Regions from separate parts of the Homo sapiens genome. Here region 1 is linked to region 2. The links are contacts of gene promoters, found by promoter capture Hi-C in blood cells and fetal thymus (Javierre and others, 2016). All regions are on one chromosome and are shown on one strand. Each heading gives the region's core, a stretch centred on a gene start or on the middle of the fragment in contact. The rest is flanking DNA. Distances are from core to core; before and after follow the strand shown. Region 1 overlaps BAZ1B (bromodomain adjacent to zinc finger domain 1B). Region 2 holds the start of STX1A (syntaxin 1A).

The links. The method cuts DNA at HindIII sites, captures the fragments that hold promoters and counts their contacts. A CHiCAGO score of 5 or more calls a contact.
Region 1: a fragment that was not itself captured here is called in contact with the fragment with the promoter of STX1A in region 2 in 1 of 17 cell types (erythroblasts); the score reaches 5.8 in erythroblasts.

Annotation. Positions count from the first base shown.
Region 1 is chr7:73,445,824-73,451,247 of GRCh38, reverse strand. It overlaps BAZ1B (bromodomain adjacent to zinc finger domain 1B), which reads left to right. Exons shown (of 20, transcript NM_032408.4): 14 at 254-401; 15 at 1,559-1,706; 16 at 3,869-3,984. Among named protein-coding and RNA genes, the nearest start is that of FZD9, 15 kb to the right of the region's middle. The HindIII fragment of the contact is 2,262 bases long and covers 1,771-4,032 here.
Region 2 is chr7:73,716,479-73,721,836 of GRCh38, reverse strand. STX1A (syntaxin 1A) reads left to right here and starts at 2,168. Exons shown (of 10, transcript NM_004603.4): 1 at 2,168-2,235. The coding sequence starts at 2,206. RefSeq lists silencers at 2,053-2,252, 2,313-2,512, 2,523-2,582, 2,693-2,772. The HindIII fragment of the contact is 14,118 bases long and covers 1-5,358 here.

The DNA of each region.
Region 1 (5,424 bases), core at 1,652-4,151, 270 kb after region 2:
TACTGAGTTGTTAGGTGGATTTCCCTAGAAGATGCTTGTCCCCAGTCATCCACCCACTCCACTGCATCTCTGTGTGACCTTTGGCAAGTTTTTTTCCCCCTTTGGAGCCTTTTATAAGAATAAATGGTTTAGATTAGTGAAGTTCTAGGAGGCAAGTGTCCTCAGAATTCTCTCATACTGTCCCCTGTTCCTAGTTCTCTCTCAGTGTCTTTGGTCAGTGTAGTAATGCTGGCCTGGTTTGGTCTCTGTTTAGGTTGCATCTGCACTGGAGAAATGGAAGACAGCAATCCGGGAAGCTCAGACTTTCTCCAGGATGCACGTGCTGCTTGGGATGCTTGATGCCTGTATCAAGTGGGATATGTCCGCAGAAAATGCTAGGTGCAAAGTTTGTCGAAAGAAAGGTATATTTAAATCAAATTTGCTTATGTGGGTATATTAGGGAGTAGGATTTCTATTCCCAAGATCTTCATTTCTACCCAAAAGAATTTTGTGTACACAGAATATAAGTGTGGTATAGATTTTACTCTCCTGCAGGTCTGTAACATGCCAGTCTTTGAAATGTCGTGCCAGGGAATCAGAGCAGGCCCTTTGTTCCTCGGTTTAGAGCATAACATAAAAGCAATTGATCTCTTCAATCTTCTGATTTTTTACAGAAAACAAAATTAGTTAATCCTTGTAACTATTTTAGTTAGTTTAGTTTTAAATCCTTTGATTGGCTCAGAACTTTAGTCATCTGTGAAGTAAGATATGTGCTTTCAGCAGGAGGCAGTCCGGGTACAGAGGGTGGCATGCAGTCTCATATGTGCAAAAGGAACTTCATGGTTAGAAGCCCCTTGCTGATTGGCTTTTCAGTGGCTAGAGTTATTTTCTGAGTTAGGTTAGAGATGAAAAGATCTACGTAAAATCATTCAGTTGCTGTAAAGCGTTCAATCGCTCTAGAATGAAGGTTGGAAGGAGAGATTACCATATTAAGTTGACTCAGCACAACACTTTTTCAAATGTAAGAAACCACATGGTTTAAGGGAACCCATCAGGGGCCGGGCGCGGTGGCTCACGCCTGTAATCCCAGCACTTTGGGAGGCTGAAGCAGGAGAATCACTTGAACCCGGGAGGCGGAGGTTGCAGTGAGCCGAGATCGCGCCACTGCACTCCAGCCTGGGTGACAGAGCAAGACTCTGTCTCCAAAAAAAAAAAAGAGAGAGAGAGAACACTCATCAGGCATAAGTTGAGAAACGTTTGGGGAGGTCGAAAAAGCAGCAAAATTTCCTACTCTCACTTGGGTTTTTTGTGCCTCTTAGTAATTGTTAACTGTTCTGTCATAGCCATGGGTAAGTTTTGGGATATAAATTAGGAGACCTGATTCCCAAATTATCTGTAATCTAAGTTATGCTTCATTTCTTTTTAGAAAATGCCTGCATTTACAAAGCAACAACTGGGTAGCATTCTATGGAACATGTCTCCTCGTGTGCCTTGAATTGTAGGGTGATTGCCTCTTCCTTACAGCTCATTGACTGCTGCTGTGCTCCCAACAATGCTATTCACATTTATCTCTCTGCAGGTGAGGATGACAAATTGATCTTGTGTGATGAGTGTAATAAAGCCTTCCACCTGTTTTGTCTGAGGCCGGCCCTCTATGAAGTACCAGATGGTGAGTGGCAGTGCCCAGCTTGCCAGCCCGCTACTGCCAGGCGCAACTCCCGTGGCAGGTGAGAATCTTTTCTTTTAAAAATAATTGAATGAATAAATATGAATAGCTGTTATAATTAAGCTTGAGTTATTCAAACAGAATGAATCTAAGGAGCTTTAAGTTCATCTTTTGGGTACAGAGCCTGATCATTTACAGTACTTCAATAGGAGCTCAAAGGACTCTGAGCTAATTTTAGCTGAATGTTGACATTTCTAGTTTTCACTGCCAGCCACATTCTCTGTCTTCTTGATCATACCTTCTTCTCAAGTAATGAAATCTCTCTCTCTGCCTTTAGCCTCCTGTTGCCCACTTCCTGTGTCTTCATGATTACTTCTGCTATCACCCACTGCTAAAAATCTCACACTCATTACCTTCCTTACCGATACATAATGTTTTCTTCCCTATCATGAGTAGAACTTGGGTGTCAACTTGGAAATGAACATCTCTCCCTCATCCTACAAACCCATTAATTTGCCATGATATCAATCCAATGCCCAGATGTTTGATGATCCAGTTTCTTGCTCTCCATTCTCCGTGGTCTCCGCTATCATTTGTCCCTTCTACATCTGTCACCTGGGCTCCTTTGGTGGCTTCTCAACTCCTCTTTCTTATATCACGTCTTCTCCCCTCTTATCCACCCAACTATTGCAACACCAGAATGCTGTACACAAAGCAAAGATCTGCTCACATTCCTGATCACAAACTTCTAGTCTTCCCATTGCCTCTAGAATAACATCCCAATTCCTGGCCTCACTTCTGAGACTCTTACACAATACCAGCTTGGGTTTTTATTAGCTTTAGATCCCATATTTGTGTACTTGTTACAGACCGTTTGTTGTTCATCCTTGCCTCTTGTGCCTTTCTCCCAGCTGGGAACATTCTCTGCCCAGAATTCCCAGTGGGTAAACTGCCCATGGCTTCGCTAAAATTTCACTGCGCTTTTGAAAAGTGCTTGCATCCTTAGGCTTCATGGTTTCTCCTCTGTGTTCAGCTGAACCTCCATTCTCTGAAGTAGTATTTTGGTGCATGGATCTTGTCTCTGGTTTTATACATGTCTGTCTCCCATGAGATTATGAATGCCCTGAGAGTAGAGGTGGTGCTTTGTTTTTTTACTTGAATCTCAATAAGGCCAAATACCGGGCCTTGTAAAGAGGAGACACCTTGTACTTGCCAAGATAATACTGTTGTTTTCCACACTGAAATTTGGGGTTGTAAAATGTGCAGCTTATAGGTACTCTGGCTTGGGCTTCTTTTTTGAGACGGAGTTTCGCTCTTGTTGCCCAGGCTGGAGTACGATGGCGCGATCTCGGCTCACTGTAACTTCCACCTCCCAGGTTCAAGCGATTCTGCTGCCTCAGCCTCCCGAGTAGCTAGGACTACAAGCATGCGCCACCACACCCAGCTCATTTTGTATTTTTAGTAGAGATGGGGTTTCTCCATGTTGGTCAGGCTAGTCTCGAACTCCCGACCTTAGGTGATCCGCCTGCCTCAGCCTCCCAAAGTGCTGGGATTACAGGCGTGAGCCACGGTGCCCGGCCTGGGCTTCCTTCTAAGGGGCAGAGCTGTTTGATCCTGACCCCACCTTAACAGTATTAGCAGGTTCTTTTGCACTCCATCCCAGCTGCACTTAGAGATGAGACATGTTGCTCTGAAATGGTGGGGCTTTGGACCAGCTGTTCCGAGCTGGGATTACCACTGCTTTGATATTATGGTCATCTGCAAGCTGTTTCAGCTCCTGGAAGGGGGCCATCAAGGTGAAGTCACACCTGTCTGGGCTCTGTTTATTCTTTTCAGTCTACCTCAGAGGTGGGGACAGCTTTTAGTAACTGATGTATTACATTATCTGGCTCTTTTTGTGAGACAAAAGAAACAGTGTTTTGTATTGCTTTGTGTGGGGAAGGGTAGGATTGCATTTTGGTCTTAATTTCTGTTGCCTTTGGTATCTTGTCCAAACTGTCTGTGGCCTGGCAGAAGGAGGCATGAGGCATGCTGTTGAAACTTGGTTTTTCATTTTTATGAAAAACTCTCCTGGCTTACATTCAGGTTCCCTCCCTGAATTATCATACGTTATACATATGTAGTCTGTGAAGAGAAGTTTCCTGATCCCTGTGGGATTTGAGCCCTTCTTAGGACCACTTTGGGCTAAAACTGTGTTCCCTACATTATTTTTTCTACCCACAGGAACTATACTGAAGAGTCTGCTTCTGAGGACAGTGAAGATGATGAGAGTGATGAAGAGGAGGAGGAGGAAGAAGAGGAGGAGGAGGAAGAAGATTATGAGGTGGCTGGTTTGCGATGTAAGTATTTTGTCTGCCTTTGTAGTTGATTTCACAGTCTTCTAAGCTTGGAACGCTTGGAAAGGCTGGCTTGGCAGTAGGTAGTGTGGCCGGCTTGCCCTATTCCTTTTCTCTTGTGTTGTGACTGTGGCGTAACTTAGCTGCCATGGGTTTAAATGGGTTTCCAAGATGGCGTTTAACTTCCTGCCTGGTGGGAGAGAAGGTGGCTTGATCTCAGTAACATCAACCCACTTGCTCTAAGATTTAGTAGAATTCATGGTCCCAAGTATATTTATGCCAAGGCTGCTGATTCTCAGCTCCTCGGCATATGGGGACAATGGGGAAGGAAGATCTTGGCCCATTGCCATCTCCTGACAGTTCTTTTGGCTGTTGTTTTATCGCTGCTTTCAGAGAGTGACTTTTTCTGTCTGGTTACAGTGATTTTCTCCTCCCTGCAGTGTGCAGGGTTATAGCTTTGCTGGTTTGAAAAGAGACGACTGATTATTTGAAGGCTTAGGTGGAAGGATGTTAGGAAGATTCAGATCTGTTCTCACTAGATGCCAGTAGGAAAAAAGGCATCATCTTTTGTGTTCACCGCATTGACTCTCATTCTCTCATGTTCATTTCTCATGAGTGTTGGAGAGTCTGGTGTTTGTGGCTAATGTCCTCCAGTCTAGCCTTTCTTTTAGCAGCCTCCCTCTTTCCAAAATACACTTTTTTTTTTTTTTTTTTTTTTTTGAGATGGTCTCACTGTCGCCTGGGCTGGAGTGCAGTGGTATGACCTCAGATTACCTCAGTCTCTGCCTCAGCCTCCCGAGTATACAGACACCCACCACCACACCTGGCTGATTTTTGTATTTTTAGTAGAGATGGAGTTTCACCATGTTGGCCAGGCTGGTCTCGAACTCCTGAGCTCAAGTGATCTGCCTGCCTTGGCCTCCCAAAGTGCTGGGATTACAGGCATAAGCCACTATGCCCGGCCAATACACTTTTCTTTACAGGTTCGTAGAAAACAGACCACAGATCAAAATTCTAATGAGCTTTTGAAGCAGTGGTACAGTTCCCAAGATCATAGCAGCTCTGAATGGTCATACTTGGTATAAGGAGTGAGAGAGAGGATGCCTGGCATGACTAGTCTCTTACTGTAGTGAGACTGCCAAAACCTAATGATTTGGGCTTGCCCGTCTTCTCCTGTCCTCCCACTTTCCCCCCCATACTTCAGAGGTGTGATGTGGGACACCTTAAGCTCTCACATACGTATGGGCTCTTTTTGTTTGTTCACTACGCCTGATTTTTCAGGTATCCTAGGGTAAGTGAACAAATGGCCCATCAGTCCTGCATTCAGGAATATCCTCTTCTGTTGGTCAGAGTCAGTGACTTGGGCACACCTTTGTTTGGGAACATATTTTTTTTGGCGGAGCGGGGGATGGGTATCTTTCTCTGTTGCCCAGGCTAGAGTGC
Region 2 (5,358 bases), core at 919-3,418:
CCCTCTGCCAGGCCACATCGGACCGTCTTGGGCCAGATTTTCCAGGGAAGAAGGGAAAGCTGGAACAGTGTCCCTAGCTTGCCTGGCAGCCAGCTAACCTGTGCCCATAGTCTGGGAGAGGTGCCAGGCCCAGACACACTGGGCAGCAGGGGGCTGGATTGGCTCCAGAGCTCCAATGCTTTGGCAGTCCTGGGGAAGGGAAGGGATGTGCTTGGCTTCAGGTCAAGAGGGTGTGGGCCACAGAAGTGACAGCTGGGGGTGGTGGAGGGCACAGCGGGCTTATGGGGGTGTGTGCGAGACCACTGTTGCAACAAGATGCTGGCAGGGACCTTCAAAAGAACATCTGCTGTTGACTGGCCTCCCCACTCCCACTCCTCCACAGGTTTTCCCATGAGTCCTAGAGGAAGCCAGGCCCCAGGCTTCTAGATAGAAAATAGAACCTACATTGGCCAAGTGTAATCCCAGTGCTTTGGAAGCCCAAGCCAGGAGGATCGCTTGAGGCTAGGACTTTGAGACCAGCCTGGGCAACATGAGGAGACCCCGTCTTTACAAAAACGAAAAAAGAGAAAATAGAACCTCAGGCCTAGAGCCAGAGTTCAGGATTGGGGATGCAGGGAAAGGAGGAGAGGGGGGCCATAACTCAAATCTCTTTCCCAAAGATAGAGTAGTTCCTGGCTGGGTGCAGTGGCTCACACCTGTAATCCCAGCACTTTGGGAGGCTGAGGCAGGCAGATCACTTGAGGTCAGGAGTTCGAAACCAGCCTGGACAACATGGTGAAACCCCTTCTCTACTAAAAATACAAAAAAATTAGCCAGGCGTGGTTGTGGGTGCCTGTAATCTCAAGCTACTTGGGAGGCTGAGGCAGGAGAATTGCTTGAACTCGGGAGGTGGAGGTTGCAGTGAGCCAAGATCGTGCTACTGCACTCCAGACTGGGCAACAGAGTGAGACTCCGTCTCAAAAAAAAAAAAAAAAAATAGGCCGGGCACGGTGGCTCACGCCTATAAGCCCAGCACTTTGGGAGGCCGAGGCGGGAGAATCAAGAGGTCAAGAGTTTGAGACCAGCCTGCTCAACATGGTGAAACCCTGTCTCTACTAAAAAATACAAAAAATTAGCCGGGCGTGGTGGTGGGCACCTGTAATCCCAGCTACTTGGGAGGATGAGGCAGGAGACTCGCTTGAACCCAGGAGGCAGAGCTGAGATAGCGCCACTGCACTCCAGCCTGGGCGACAAGAGTGAAACTCCATCTCATAAATAAATAATCAAACAAACAAACAAACATAAAAAGATAGAGGAGTTCCTTCATCCTGCAGGAAAAAGGGGTGGGTCACGCAGCATCAGAGCTGTGAACTGAGAAATCCTAGGGAAAGAAGAGGCCAGTGCCTGAGTCCCTACTGGATGATGGGAGCAAGGGGGAAGGGTGGAGGCTCCCAGACTGGAACTCTCCAGGAGGTTTTTGGCTGGGGAACAGAAGGGAGAGCAGGAGGTCCCAAGGTAATGAAATGAAGGAGGGAGTTACAACCTTCAGCAAATTCTGGGGAAGTGAAGGGATCTGAGGATGAGGACCGGATTCTGGGACAGGGATGCTGAGCTGCTAAGTCGGGAAGAGGCTGGAAGCCAGGCACGGTGGCTCACGCCTGTAATCGCAGAGCTTTGGGAGGAGGGAGGATCGCTTGAGGACAGGAGTTCAAGACCAGCCTGAGTAACATAGCAAGACCCTGTCTCTACAAAATATTTGAAAATTATTCAGGAGTAGTGGCGAGCAACTCTAGTCCCAGCCACCCAGGAGACTGAGGCGGGAGGATTGCCTGAGCTCAGGAGCTCAAGGCTGCAGTGAGCTATGATTGCACCACAGCACTCCAGCCTGGGCGACAGAGCGAGACCCTGTCTCCAAAAATAATAAATAAAAAACGAGACAGGGCTGGGGCAGAGGAGGCAGCAGGGTCTCTGGGGACCCATCCCCGGGAGCGATCACGCGTGCGGAACGTCCAGGACGAGACCCCAGGGCTTCGATCCCCACGGGGCTGCTCGTGCGGGGTGGGGCGGGGTCTGGGCGGGGTCTGGGCGGGGCCCGGGCGGGGTGGGGCGGGGCCGGGGTCCCGGGGGCCGGGGCGGGGCCGGGCTGGCGCTGCGCAGCCGCGGGGCGGCCGTCGCGCATGCGGGGCTCACACGGCTGCAGCCGGCGCCGCTGCCACTCCCGGGAGCATGAAGGACCGAACCCAGGAGCTCCGCACGGTGAGTCCGGCCCCAGCGCGCGGCCGCCCGCCGCCCGCCGCCAGCGCCAACGCGCCGGACACTTCCCGCCCGGCTCCCGCGGCCAGGATGGTGGCCGCTCCTGCGCCCCCAGCCAGGGCTGAAGGGAGCGGGGCGAGCCAGGGACCTCGACCCCCCTCCGGGTTCCGCCCCTCGGACCCACTCGGGGTCAGGCTCGCGTGAGCTCGGCCGCGCTGACACGTGGACGGTCGGCTGGAGTCCGGGGTCCTGGATAAACTTTTCGGGGCCCTCTTGATTTGGGGGGTTCGGAGGGTATGATGGGGTTTTGGTGGCGGGACCTCTTCCCCCTCCCGCAGAGCAGGCCCTTTCTCTGGCCCCCTCACTGCCCCTCATCTCTGACCTCCCGTGCCCCCTCGGTGTAGACAGACGAGGGGACCGCGGTGGGAACCTCCTTGGTGTAGACAGACGAGGGGACCGCGGTGGGCCGGTGCCGGTCCCCTGCGCGGGGCCCCGCTGCGGGGCGCGCTGCGGAAACCTGATCGTCGGGTGGTGGCGGCCTCCTCGGGCCACCCTGGTCACCTGTGGCTCCCATCACCTGTGGCTCCCCCTCTGCTTGGTCGCAGTAGGGATCCACTGCCCGCCCCAGGTATGGGGGGGGGGGCGTCACACCCGCCCCCGGTCCACCTATCCACCTTCGGGCTTTCGGGCAGCACTGGCTGGCGTTTCCAGACCCTTCAGGGTTCCTTGCGACTTGGATCTATTTTTCTACCTGTATCTGGGAAACCCCTGGGGTGTGGCTCCTGGGGCGGGGTTTGGGGGGAGTAGGAGGATGCACAAACGTTCTGAGTCAGAGCCCACCTTCTCCCAGCCCAGAGACCCCTGCAGCCTGCGTGGGTCCCCTTCCCCTGGCCTCTGCCCTTAGGGATGAGGAGCCCAGGAGGATGGTGACCGGGAGTGGAGGACAGCGACGGAAATGAAGCCTCTCTGGGTGTGTCGGGGAGGGGGGGTGGATCAAGGCTCAAGACTAGATTGAGTCTCATCTGGTCATCTGGTCCCCTGGCTGGCCACCTGGCTGGCAGCCCTGCCTGCTGATCCCTGGGAGCACCCCCCACCCCGCTCCCTGGGCTAGGAACTAGAACCCTAAGGTCCCCTCCTATGGAAAATGTCAAGTGTCCTTTGGGCATTTGACCCCACGGCTTGTCTTCTCCACCCAGAGGCTCCCTGAGTTGGAGCCTGTCTGCCCCATTATGTCATGGTTGCCTCCTGGGCATCCTGGAGCCGGGACCTGGGCTCCCCTGCCTTCATGTCCCCCACTTGCTCTGGCACCACGGCCTCCACTTTGCCTCCAGACCTGTTATTCCTGGCCGAGCGCCCAGCCCCTGGTGTAAACCCCATGAGGTTTCAAAGGAAGAAGATGGTCCCTCAAGTCGCATATGGGCTCTAAACACTTCCCCCGCGGCCCCTGTGGTTGCCCTCAAGTTTCCTGAGCTCCGTTGAGTCAGAATGAGTGTTTTCCTGGTGACGGATGGCTGTGTGGTGTAATGTGCTGATGTTTAGGCGCCTGGTAGGTTACCTGAGGGTGTGTGTGGGAACCAAGTGGTCAGGGGAACCATGGGCCCCTACATAGGATAATAGCCTCTGGCATGTCAGCCTTCATCCCCCTAGCTGAAGGGGAAACTGAGGCACAAAAGAAACACGGCTTGCCTGCTAGAGGGAGGGGTGGTAGAAAAGGGCTTTGCCTCATCCCTGAAGATAGTCAGACTCAGGCCTGGCTGACACTGGGGGACAGCCAGTGGAGCTGGGGTTGTGAAGCGTTTGAACCCAGATCTTTTTGCTCTGATGTCTGTCTCTGTTACTACCTCCTCGCCCCCTGATTAGATGGTGAAGCCAGGCTTTGCTTTGAATGGTCTGAGGCTTCCGCTCCAGACACCCCCACCCTCCCCACACAAGGCATTCAGAGCCCAGGGAGGCTGTACCCATTGCTGGGTGGCCCTGCCCAGGGAGGGCTTTCTAGCAGACAGGTGGACGGCTGGCAGGCAGGAGCCCACCCGGGGTGGGGTGAGACAGTCAGTCTTGGTGGGGCCACTGTTCCCACAGGCTGCTTTCCCTCTGGACCTAGGGTTCCCATCTGTGAAGTGGGGATGGGAAAGCCTAGAATTCAGTTTCTCGGGACGAGAAGCAGGGCTACAGGTCTCCTGACTCCAGCTCCACATTTGTAGGAGGCCTGAAGCCCCAGGAGTCAGAATTTTCAGCCCAGAATCCCCAGAAAGGAAGAGGCCAGCACTGGCTGAGCTGGACTGGGCTGGACTGGGCTGGACTGGGGCGGGCTGGGCTGGGCTGGGCTGAACAGAGATGGTGCTGGGGACAGCGGCTGTGCACCGCTCCCAGCCCTCCCTCCCTCCCTCTTCCTCCTCCTCCTCCCTCTTCTTTCTCCTTCTCCCCCACCCAACACCACCACATTTGGAAGGAGGCGAAGAGAGCTTATTTATAAAAGTCACACTTGGGGAAGGAGCTGGCGCGTTTCCTCACTCTGCAGGCCCGGCCCAGCCCTCCAGCCTTCTCCAGCCTTCTCCAGCTCCCAACTCTCCCTCTGCAGATGGGGAGTGAAGGGGGTCACTGGGGACTAGCCAGGGGGCCTCAATGCTGTCGCAGTCCCTCAGAGATCAGAAAGGCCACTTGCAGGTTACAGGTAACAAAGAGAGACCGAAGACAGGGCCAGGGTCACACAGCCAGGGAAAGACTTTTAGGTTAGAGCATCCCCAGGAGCCCCACTCAGGCTGTAGCTGCCTCCTCCCCTCAACTCAGAGACTCCCTGATTTTCTTCCTGGGGACTTTGCAGAGCTGACCTTTCTCCCTGGGCCCAGAACATGTATTTGTCTATGTGCCAGGTCATGTGGGACAGACACATGGGACCTGTTGCAGGAGGCTGAAGACGTAGCAAGGAGGGAGAGTTGGAGCAGCACAATCCTGGAAGGCTTCCTGGAAGAAGAGACCCTGGGATAGCACAGGAGCAGGAGCTGGATTTGAATAGGAGGAGAGAAGGTGATCCAAAGGAGGGGACAGCTTAGTGAAGGCAGAGAGATTGGAATGCTCAACCAGGAGAGAATAGCAGGTGGTCCTGACAGCTGGTGTCTGGGGCCCCCT